Regions from separate parts of the Homo sapiens genome. Here region 1 is linked to region 2. The links are contacts of gene promoters, found by promoter capture Hi-C in human tissues and cell types (Jung and others, 2019). All regions are on one chromosome and are shown on one strand. Each heading gives the region's core, a stretch centred on a gene start or on the middle of the fragment in contact. The rest is flanking DNA. Distances are from core to core; before and after follow the strand shown.

Region 1 (5,211 bases), core at 181-2,680, 300 kb after region 2:
TCACCACCATCATTATCATCACCTCCACCATCACCACCATCATCACCATCATCACCATCACCGCCATCATTACCATCACCTCCACCATCACCACCAGCATCACCATCACCACCATCATTCCATCACCTCCACCACCACCATCATTCCATCACCACCATCATTACCATCACCTCCACCATCACCTCCACCACCACCACCATCGTCACCATCACCACCATCATTACCATCACCACCATCATTACCATCACCTCCACCATCACCTTCACTACCACCACCACCATCATCATCGCTAACAAGAACAACAACATTTGCCAAAGAAGCCCTCTCAATGGTCATCACTGGGTAGCCCATGGTAGCCGCGGCCATGTTTGTGTGTCTCCCACAAGTACCTCAGGCACCGCTCTGCACTCGAGGTGTTAGGGGAAGGTAGAGTGCAACAGCACTGGCCCAAGACCTTCCCAGAAGCTGCTCCTGAAGAGACAGAGACAGACACTGTGCAGTGGGTCCAGGCTGAGATGGGAAGGCAGAAGGTGTGTGGAGGCAAGGGAAGGGAGCATCTAAGGTTACCTTGAACAACCAGGAGGGCTCCCTGGAGGAGGTGCCAGCCACCTCAGTAGGCTGAAGAGGAGTTTCCTGGTGAGAAGTTTGGAGGAGGGTGATCTAGGCAATGTGCCCCAAAGAGAGCATGAGGGATCAATAGGGACAAAGGGTAGTGGAAACCAGGGCTGGAGCTCAGTGCAGGTCGGTTTGATGAGGGTGGGTGCAGGGGCTATGCTCCTGGGAGCCCCAGGGAAGTGCCTGCAGGGGCCCTATGGGGACAGGGCAGGCCCTATCACCCCATTTTAGAGCAAAAGACTGAAACTTCTGGGAGAAGGCCACTCACCCAATGCCGGTTTGAAGCCGATGGCTGTGTGGCCCCATGCGTGGCTCAGCAGGCTTTGCTCCTGCTCATCTCCGTGCCGTCCCTCAGCCAGGAAGACGGTTTCTTGGACTGTCTGCCTGGCTCACCCTTCAGGGCTCAGCAATGGCTGTCTTCCTCCAGGAAGCCTTCCCCGAACACCCCTGCCCGCTGCCTGTCTCCCTGGGGCTCTCATGGCACTGGGCTCTTGTTAGTTTCTGTGGCATTTTCCTTTGAAGGCTGATTTCTCCCCAAGGCCCTGGGACCCGGCCAGCATGGCCTGCCCATCGAACATAGTTGATGCCACCCCTCCGTCTCCTTCTGCCACCAGTCCTGGTGAATGAGCCCCTGGCCCAAATGGGCGAAGATTCTGCCTCGACAGGCTAGAAGCTTGCCCATGCTCTCCCCGCCGGGATATAACTGTGGGCCCCTCTGCCTGTCCCTCATCTGGCCTTTTCCATGCCTGCCTGGCCTGTGCCACAGGTCCTGGTGGGAGTGAAGGAAATCTTAGCGTCTCATAAAGTCTGCAGCTCTTTCTCTGGGCTTTTATTTTATCTTATTTTTTAGAGACAGAGTCTCACTCTGTCACCCATGCTGGAGTGCAGTGGCATGATCTCGGCTCATGGCGACCTCTGCCTCCCGGATTCAAGCCATTCTCCTGCCTCAGCCTCCCCACTAGCTGGGATTACAGGTGCGAGCCACCACGCCCAGCTAATTTTTGTATTTTTAGTAGAGATGGGGTTTCACCATGTTGGCCAGACTGGTCTCAAACTCCTGACCTCAGGTGAACCACATGCCTCAGCCTCCTAAAGTACTGGGAGTACTTTAGGAGGAGTGTGAGCCACTGCTCCTGGCCCTGGTGGAACTTTTAAAAGCCCAGAGAAAGACCGGGCGTGGTGGCTCACGCCTGTAATCCCAGCACTTTGGGAGGCCAAGGTGGGTGGATCACCTGAGGTTAGGAGTTTGAGACCAGCCTGGCTAACATGGTGAAACCCCGTCTCTACTAAAAATACAAAAATTAGCCAGGTGTGATGGCGTGCACCTGTAATCCCAGCTAGTGGAGAGGCTGAGGCATGAGAATTGGTTGAACCTGGGAGGCGGAGGTTGCCGTGAGCTGAGATCACGCCACTGCACTCCAGCCTACGCGACAGAGTGAGACTCAGTCTAAAGAAAAAAAAAGTTTCCACCACCAGAAACAGCCCTGCTGGATGGATCCTGTGCAGTAATATATCTGTTTTAATAACTCAGTGGTCCGCAGTGCCCTACGACTACAGCACCAGCTGTAGGCAACATAATTCAATTCAGGACCCAGCCAGCACTCTCTGAGCTTTCCGTTTGACTTGCACGTGTTTTAATCTCCTGGGATCCGGATCAGTTTCCTCCTGGCCTGGCTCAATGAGAAGACCACATTTCAGCCACTTTAACTGGTGAGGAAATTAGCTTGATGTGTATATTTGAGGCATGTTGATATGTGTCATGATTCCCACCCCTCAAAATCTTTGTATGTTGGCTCCAGTTCCTGAAAAGAGTGTTATAAAAGCCCCAGCCCCTCCTTTTGCCAGGGACTTGTATGTACCCATTTCCCACCAGGCAGGGAGGGCAAAGGCACCTCAAGCGCTGAGAGGTGGCCCAGGATGCTGCACTCAGGGTACAGCTAAGAGTGCATTAGAAGTGGGGAGTGTTCGGGAGCTGCAGCTCTTTGTGGTCTCAGGCAGCCAGGAAATAGGGTACATGGGCAGGACCCACTGTCTCAGAGGTTAGGCCCTGTCCCTGGCCTTGGCCTGGACTTTCTTACTGCCTGCTTCCATGGGGTGTCTCACCTATGCCCTCCACCTAGCGCCTCCCTAGGGACCCTGGCTGCCCACCTGAAGGGGGTGACGGCTGGGCTGCCTCCCTGACGTGCCATCTGCTCCCTCCTTTGGGCACAGCAACTCTGAAGAGCAATCAGCCCCAGCCCAGGTGGGATCACTGCAAATGTGGCCTTCAAACTCCAGTAATCCTGGCAATGCCCTGGTCTCCGCAGTTAGTGTGACTCGCTGGTTGAGCTGAACACTTAGCGTGTGCCAGGCCCTCACTTAGGGCTTCATGCGCCCACAGATCAAGGTGCTGGGTGTCCTTTCACAGATGGGGAAGCTGAGGCTCGGGGTCACAGAGCCTGGTGGTCCACTGTCCCCGTCTCCAGACTCTGCCCCCAACACCCACTTTCTGTTCACTGTGGACCCAGGATCAGCTGTGACAGCTCCCGAGGAGGCCCCCCAGCACCCTGCTGGGTAGATGGTGTTACCTCCTTAAACCTCCCGGTGATGTGGACATTCACACCTTTGGTTGAGGTGTCCTGGAGAGGAATGATTTGCCCGAATCCCACGGCGTGTACACGGAAGGCCCGGGTTCGAATTGGACTCAGTCTGAGCTGTTGCCCGAAGTCTTCCGCAGCTGTATAGCCTTACAGCTATGAAGGCATTTTCTGGGCCTGGGTTGGAGCCCACCCTCACGCCCTGGCCACTGCCTCCTGATGGCCTGTGTGCATTCTCAGGCTGAAATGGGGACCCCTGTGGAGAGGGGCTAAGGAGTCCAGGTCTGTGTGCCAACCTCCCTAGGCGGCCCCTGCAGGGAAGGAAGATTGTATGGTCCAGCCAGGGACCCCAGGCCGTGGGTCTGATGCCAGATCTGCCAGCTGTAGTCACCCAGTAGGAGATGGCGAAACAGCCCTGGGGAACCCCACTGTCAGCACCAGAGTTCCTGGCTCCTGGGGCTAGCATGCTGGGGCTCAAACCCCTGCTTGATGACTGTGTGACCCTGGCAGCCTCCCTGGGTCTCGGCCTTCCCACCCTTAAAGCAAGAGGTTCAGACCAGATCAGTGGTTCTTGGTCGTTCATGGGTCCTGTGTGGTGTGGGGGAAGCAGGCCAGTTTCCAGGCGTCGATGCCATCAGTGGTCAGCCCTGGGGCTGTGACTCTTGGTGCCCAAGACTAAAACAGACACCCCATGACTTTCAGGAGATCACCCTGACAGGTAGGATCGTGGCTGCAGGTTTGCTTAAAACGAAATTGTTTATTTGGGCTGTTCTGATTCCTGCAAGCAGGAGCTCAGATGTGCCTGTGGCTCAGCTTAAGCCTGGCCACCCGGTCCCTGTCCTGGGGGTGTCCACGAAACAGGATGAATAGAATCTGGGTCCTCCACACCAAAAAGTCCAACGCTCATATCTTAGACCAGTGGTTCTCAACTGGAGCCAATTCTGCTCCCCGGGAGACATTTGGCAATGTCTGGGGATACGTTTTGTTGTCATACCTCAGGGGATGCTGTGTGCTAAAAGCGTCTAGTGGGCAGAGGCCAGAGACGCTGCTGAACATCCTACCGGGCACAGACGGTCCCCACCACAGGGAACGATCCTGCCCTGAATGCCCATGGTGCAGCCACAAGAAGCCCCAGCGGAGACAGGCAGCTGAGTGCTCGGTGTCGGGCCCTTGCCTAGAAGGATGAGGTCCAAATGGTGGCCTGGCTTTCGGTGGCCTTTGTGGCCTAACCCAGCCTCAGCCCTGGGTGCTGGGCACTCTGGCATCATGTGCTAGGTTAGTCCCACTGGGTCGTGGCACTTTTAGAGGGTGGGCTTTATGCAGGGAACTCTGGAAGGCTCAGATTCAGCCTTGGGCATCCATCTTCTCCCCATGGGGGACTCAAGCAGGAAATCAAAGGACTCTTCATTCTGTGGTGGGAGGCACTGGAAAGGGCCTTCCCTCCTCCTCCCTCAAAGCTCAAACCTGGATCTTCCACCAGCAGTCATCAGTGCAGGGTGGAGGTCAAAGTGACCCTCATGGAAGGAGGAGGTAAAGGACTGCCCAGGGCACATTGCTTTTGCCCACCAGCAAACCCAGCTTAGCCAGGGTCCTGGAGCTGCCCCATCAGGGCGGTGCTGGTCGGTTGCCACAGGCGAGGAGTGATTGTATGTTGGGGTCAGGGAGGGCCAGGAGCATCCCTCTCCAGACTCAGGTCCTTGGCTCTCCTACCGAGGAAGGGGTTCATGGACAAGCGCAGACCAGGCCTCACCTGGACTCCAGATCCTCATCTGCAGAGATGGGGGCTCGCCCCTGCCTCAGCCTCACTCAGCACACCTGGCCCTCATCACCTCCTCTCTCGGCTGACTGCCAGGCTCAGGCAGCCTGGAGTTTTGGTCAAGGTGCAGCTGGATGTGCTGGGCAGCCTGACCTCAGCTCTCCTGGTCCTGGAGAGGACTTTTGTTAGAGACACAGAGCATTTGTTTTAACATAGAAGATGTGATGTGAGTTTGTCTATGAGGCAGTCCCGAGCCTCCCTGTC
Region 2 (5,328 bases), core at 76-2,575:
GCTCAGGAGTTCGAGACCAGCCTGGGCAACATGGCAAAACCCCGTCTCTGTTAAAAATACAAAAATGAGCCAGGTGTGGCAGCGGGTGCCTGTAATCCCAGTTACTAGGGAGGCTGAGGCAGGAGAATCCCTTCAACTCAGGAGAGAGAGGTTGCAGTGAGTACAGATCACGCCTTTGCACTCCAGCCTGGGTGAGAGAGCGAGACTCCGTCAATAAATAAATAAATAAATAAATAAAAACGCTTTGAGAGAAAAAGAGGGTGTGGCCTGTAACTCATTCTGTGAAGCTGTACCCTCACCTTGATACCCAAACCAGTCAAAGACACAAGAAGAAAGGGGTTTGGGGCCAGGCTTACTCATTAACATGGTCTCAAAGATCCTAAATAAGTCTTAGCAAACAGAAACCAGCGACAAACAAAAAAGAAAACATCGAATTCAATACAATAAATATTTGAGAGCCCACAAAGTGTTAGGTGCTGTTCAGGGCATGGGAGCACTGCGGTAAATAAAACGGATGAGAATCCTGGCTGTGATGAAACTTAAAATGGGGAGGAGGTGAAAGAAAACCAGAAAACGAAGGCAGATGTCATGTGTTTCACAGGTGCAGAGTACAAGTCGAGCACTTGAGAAAGAATTTCTCAGGGAAACATTAAATCACCCTCCATCTCTACTGAACATCCTGAACAACAACAGCGCCGCAGCAGCAAGGACTTGCCTTCCTTCTTAGGGTCATCCATGTTCACGTCCCCTGCCCGGCAGGCTGAAGGCTCATCGCGGCCGCCGCCTCCTTCCATGGAGAGAGCTGTCAGAAGTCACTGCAGGGTGGAACGGGGCCAGAAAGTGAGTACGTGTCAGGGCCCAGGGCTCCGGCTTCCTTCAGCCCTCGGCTCACAGAGGCAGAGAGAGCTGAAGGCCGCGGCCAGGTCTGGGAGAGGCGGCGCGGGGGCCGCTCTGAAATGATCGCATCCCAGGGGACCCCAGGGCCCGAGTGCCGCCAGGCCGGGAGTCAGCCCGAACGCCATCAGACGAGATAACGGAATTCTCGGCTTCTGGGCCAGAGTGTTGGGGGCTCTGTTTGCCTGGGGGGCAGCCCTAGACCTCCCGGCATCCCCGACCACGGCGCGAGGGGCCTCAGTGACCCCTGCTCGAGCCCAGGCCCGGCTCCTGGCGGGGCGCGGCCCCTCCCCGTCCCGAAAACGGCGGGCACCGCGCCGCACCGGGCCCACCGGGCAAGCCTCGCCCCCGACCCTGACCCCACCTTACCCAAAGCGGCAGACGATGCAGGACGCGCCTCCGGCACGGATTTAAACGCGGCGCCGGGAGACGCGGGTTGCCGATTGGTCGGTTTGAAAAGGGCTCCGAGAGGCGGCGGGCTGGGTGCGTCCTGGGTATTGTAGTCAGGACGCTGGTAAGAAGCGTCCAGTGCGCATGCGCACTGCTTCAGCGCAGCGAATGGCTCCGCACAGCGCCAGGGATCACCCACCCGGAAGTCTGCCCGGCCTGGCCGCCAAGTGTCACTAGGTATCCGCGTCAAGCCGGAACCATGTATAGCAGCTCCTTGTGTGTAGGGAGAAAGTTAAAACTGCCATCTAAGGGTGTCGATGGGAAGACTAAAAGTAGGCTCACCCACCTGCTGTGAAGCAGCGCGCGCGAGCTGTTACTAACAGTAGTGAAAAGCCGGGATCCCTGCCCCCGAGGCACGCACTGGGGCGCCGGCTGACCCAGAGACCTGAGGGAGACTCATTGCCGGAGCTGCACAGCCTGTGGGGCTGGAGGGGAACCGTCGCCCTTGGCGGGCTTCCCCAACCGCCAAGGCCTGAGGACCGCCGAGGGCGTGGCGGGAGCCTGTCCTCGGTTTTACAGGCCGGCTGGGGAGCTGCGTTGGAGGAGAGAGCCAGGGGCTGGGGCCCGGTGATGGAGCCTGCCTTGGGGAGTGCATGTGTTGGAGAGAGGTGGGAAGCAGATAGGATAACCCTGACCTGAGCCATGGAGACGCAAGGACAGGACTGGTAGACGGGTCAGTGGGCAGCAACTTAAGACTGACCTCGCTTGAGCCTTTGCCTGCGAACGAGGTATAATACCCACCTCGGGGGCTTGAGGATCAAATGAGGGGCTCCACCCACGGCAAAGTGTCACTAAGCGGGATGGAGGAGGATGCAGGAAGAGGAGTCTGGGAGGACCCGCTCTGAAAAGGATGGAACTCGAGAGCACCATTTTCAGGGACGAAGATAAGCTGTTTATTTGGGGCAGGCTGTGGGGAGAGCTGTGCAGCAAACAGCCACCCGGGGCCCAGGGCAGAGGCCTTCCAGGCTGGCTCGGGCACTTCTGGGTCCCATGTCCCTGGTTTTGCATCATCCATACCAATCACTCCATGTTGCTATGTTCCTTCACCAGAAGACTGGGGGCTCAAAAAGGGCAGGGCAGCCCTCACTCACCAGTCTCCCCAGCCTCACCCAGCTCAGCACAGGGCACCAGGCAGGGGCTGAGAGTGCTGGGGTAGGTGGGTGTGGTCAAACAGCTTGGAAAGAGTTTGGCCTGCTCATTGCATTCCCCTCAGCTCATCCTGGGGATGTCTGCTCATGGGAGAATGGCAGAGGGATCCCCAACAGTCATTCCTGATACTCCTCTCCCTGTATCATGTCAGCACATAGTAGGTGTGGCCTATGTATGGCAGATTCATTTCTGCCCCCAATAGGATTTGCTGTAGTTTGGATGTGTGTCCCCTCAAAATCTCATGTTGAAATGTGATCCCAATGTTGGAAGTGGGGCCTGGTGGGAAGTAATTGGGTCGTGAGGGCAGATCCCTTATGAATGGTTCAGCACCATCCCCTTGGTGATGAGTTCTTGCTTAGTTCACACAAGATCTGGTTATTTAAGAGTCTAAGACCTCCCCTTCTCTCTTACTCCTGCTCTCACTATGTGATATACTGGCTCCCCATCACCTTATGTCATGATCTTAAGCTTCCTGAGGTTGCACCAGAAGCAGATGCCAGCACCATACTTCCTGAAAAGCCTGCAGAACTGTGAGCCAATTAAACCTCTTTATAAATTACCTAGCGTCAGGTATTTCTTCATAGCAATGCAAGAAGGCCTAATACAGAGTTTGACTTCATTTATTTATGCCTTCATTCACCAACTTTCACTGACAGCTACTCAGTGCAGGCCATGTGCCAGGTGATGCTGGGGACAGATGCTGTCCCTGACCTGGAGAGGTCATGGCAGGGGTGCAAGAGCAAGGGCAAGTGCCAAGGGCTGAGGGGCACAGAGGCAGCACCCTCACCAGCCTGCAGTGGGGGTTGGCGGGTAGAAGGCTTCCTGGAGGAGGGACCAGGGTTCCCAATTGCACAGCCAAGTCATGTCTTCTTGCTTGGAACCAGGAGAGGGGAAGGAGGCTCCCCTTAGGATGTGTCCCTAGTTCTTGGGTAGAGAAGGCGCCTCTCTGGAAATACTACTATAATTACCCCTTTTCTTTCTTTCTTTTTTTTTTTTTTTGAGACGGAGTCTTGCTTTGTCGCCCAGGCTGGAGTGCAGTGGCGCGATCTCCGCTCACTGCAAGCTCTGCCTCCCGGGTTCACGCCATTCTCCTGCCTCAGCCTCCCGAGTAGCTGGGACTACAGGCGCCCACCACCATGCCCGGCTAATTTTTTGTATTTTTAATAGAGATGGGGTTTCACCGTGTTAGCCAGGATGGTCTTGATCTCCTGACCTCGTGATCTACCTGCCTCAGCCTCCCAAAGTGCTGGGATTACAGACGTGAGCCACTGCGCCCGACCTCCCATTTTCTTGACTAGATGCCCCACCTACTTTTTTTTTTTTTTCCCTTGAGATGGGAGTCTCGCTCTGTTGCCCAGACTGCAGTGCAATGGCACGATCTTGGCTCACTGCAATCACTGCCTCCCAGGTTCAAGTGATTCTCCTGCCTCAGCCTCCCGAGTAGCTGGGATTACAGACGTGTGCCACCATGCTCAGCTAATTTTTGTATTTTCAGTAGACACAGGGTTTCACCATGTTGGCCAGGCTGATCTCGAACTCCTGACATCAGGGGATCCACCCACCTCAGCCTCCCAAAGTGGTGGGATTACAGGCGTGAGCCACTGCGCCTGGCCTGCCCCACCTACCTTAAGTTCAAGGAGAAGCCATCTCCCCAGGACCCAGCCCCAGGCCTGCACCACAGATGCTCAAAGACTTGGAGGAACTGATGAATTCATTTTAATCACAGAAATTTGCCTGGGCTTGAGCAAACTGTGGGGACTCAATAGATTTGGAGGCCTCCTCTCCCTTCTGAGAGGCCTGCCTGCTTCCTGCCCTGATGAATCCCTAATTTCAGTACAAACTGAGGAACTTGAAAAACATCTGTGCACTGGGACCGCCCCTCACAGGAGGGCTGAAAGCAGCACAGCTGAGTCAGCGGCACATTCAGCAGGCGTTCAGTGGGGAAGCAGGAGACAGAGGCGGCGCTCACAGGACCCGCTCCAGGCTTGTCACAGCCACACATCACAGCACTTTGGGTTTTGCCACAACAGAGCAGCTCTGAGCTCAATCCTTGCACCTCAGAAGTGCATTTATGATTAAAATCATGCTCGACATGAAGCCCTGTTATGATGTGCAGTTTAAAAAGAGAAACGGGTCCAAATCAGCACCAACAGAGCCCCCCAGGGGGCTCCAAGACTCGCCCCAGAGACAGCAGAAGGACCCCATGTGCGCGCTGATCTGTAAGAAGGGTGGTGGATGCAGCAGCAGGGGGCTGCGTCCAAAGGCAGCAGGTGGGGGCCTCTCATAGTGTGACCCTGGGCAGGCCACTCCCCTACCCCGGTACCCTCACCTGAAAAATGGGACAGCAACACAATGAGACAACAGAGACTGTCTAGAATATAAAGAAAAGAATGAAAAGGTCCATCCCAAGGGCAGCCTGGTGGGGACGGGGACAGGCAGTGGGGGGAGGCTGCCTCTGGAAGACCTGTCCCAGCAGAATCAGCCCCCACCTCTGCCCTGCCTTCCAACCTTTGAACCACCAGGCAGTAGACACATTCCCCTGGGAAACAGAATTTGCAAGGCAGGTGGAAAGAGCAGCACTCACACTGGCTGTGACTGCTGAAAAATGCTCATTGGCCCTTCTCGAGGACTGAAAGGAGATTCGGAATCACATTTAAAATTAACCCGTGACCCACTTCCTGTAAAACTGAAGATCACCCTCTAACAGCCCTAACAAACAGGCTCTGGCCGTCTCCTGACCCTAACCCGGTGGAGCAGCTGACTGGACGCAGTGACGCCACCACTGAGGTTCTGCAGGGTGGAGGCGGCCAGGCTGGCTCACTGCATGAGGTGGAC

Evidence for each region. The method cuts DNA at HindIII sites, captures the fragments that hold promoters and counts their contacts. A contact is called where the count stands out against the background at its distance.
Region 1: a contact is called between a fragment that was not itself captured here and the fragment with the promoter of GTSE1 in region 2, in 3 of the 25 tissues and cell types used here (dorsolateral prefrontal cortex, mesenchymal stem cells and spleen).

The regions. Positions count from the first base shown.
Region 1 is chr22:45,988,312-45,993,522 of GRCh38, reverse strand. No RefSeq gene overlaps it. Among named protein-coding and RNA genes, the nearest start is that of WNT7B, 14 kb to the right of the region's middle. RefSeq lists an enhancer at 461-960. The HindIII fragment of the contact is 8,090 bases long and covers 1-5,211 here.
Region 2 is chr22:46,292,867-46,298,194 of GRCh38, reverse strand. GTSE1 (G2 and S-phase expressed 1) reads right to left here and starts at 1,325. Exons shown (of 12, transcript NM_016426.7): 1 at 1,264-1,325; 2 at 716-815. The coding sequence starts at 794. It overlaps GTSE1-DT (GTSE1 divergent transcript), which reads left to right and starts at 1,535. Exons shown (of 1, transcript NR_024009.1): 1 at 1,535-3,052. TTC38 (tetratricopeptide repeat domain 38) reads right to left here. Exons shown (of 14, transcript NM_017931.4): 14 at 4,187-5,328. The coding sequence ends at 5,311. RefSeq lists an enhancer at 808-917 and a silencer at 1,068-1,267. The HindIII fragment of the contact is 16,228 bases long and covers 1-5,328 here.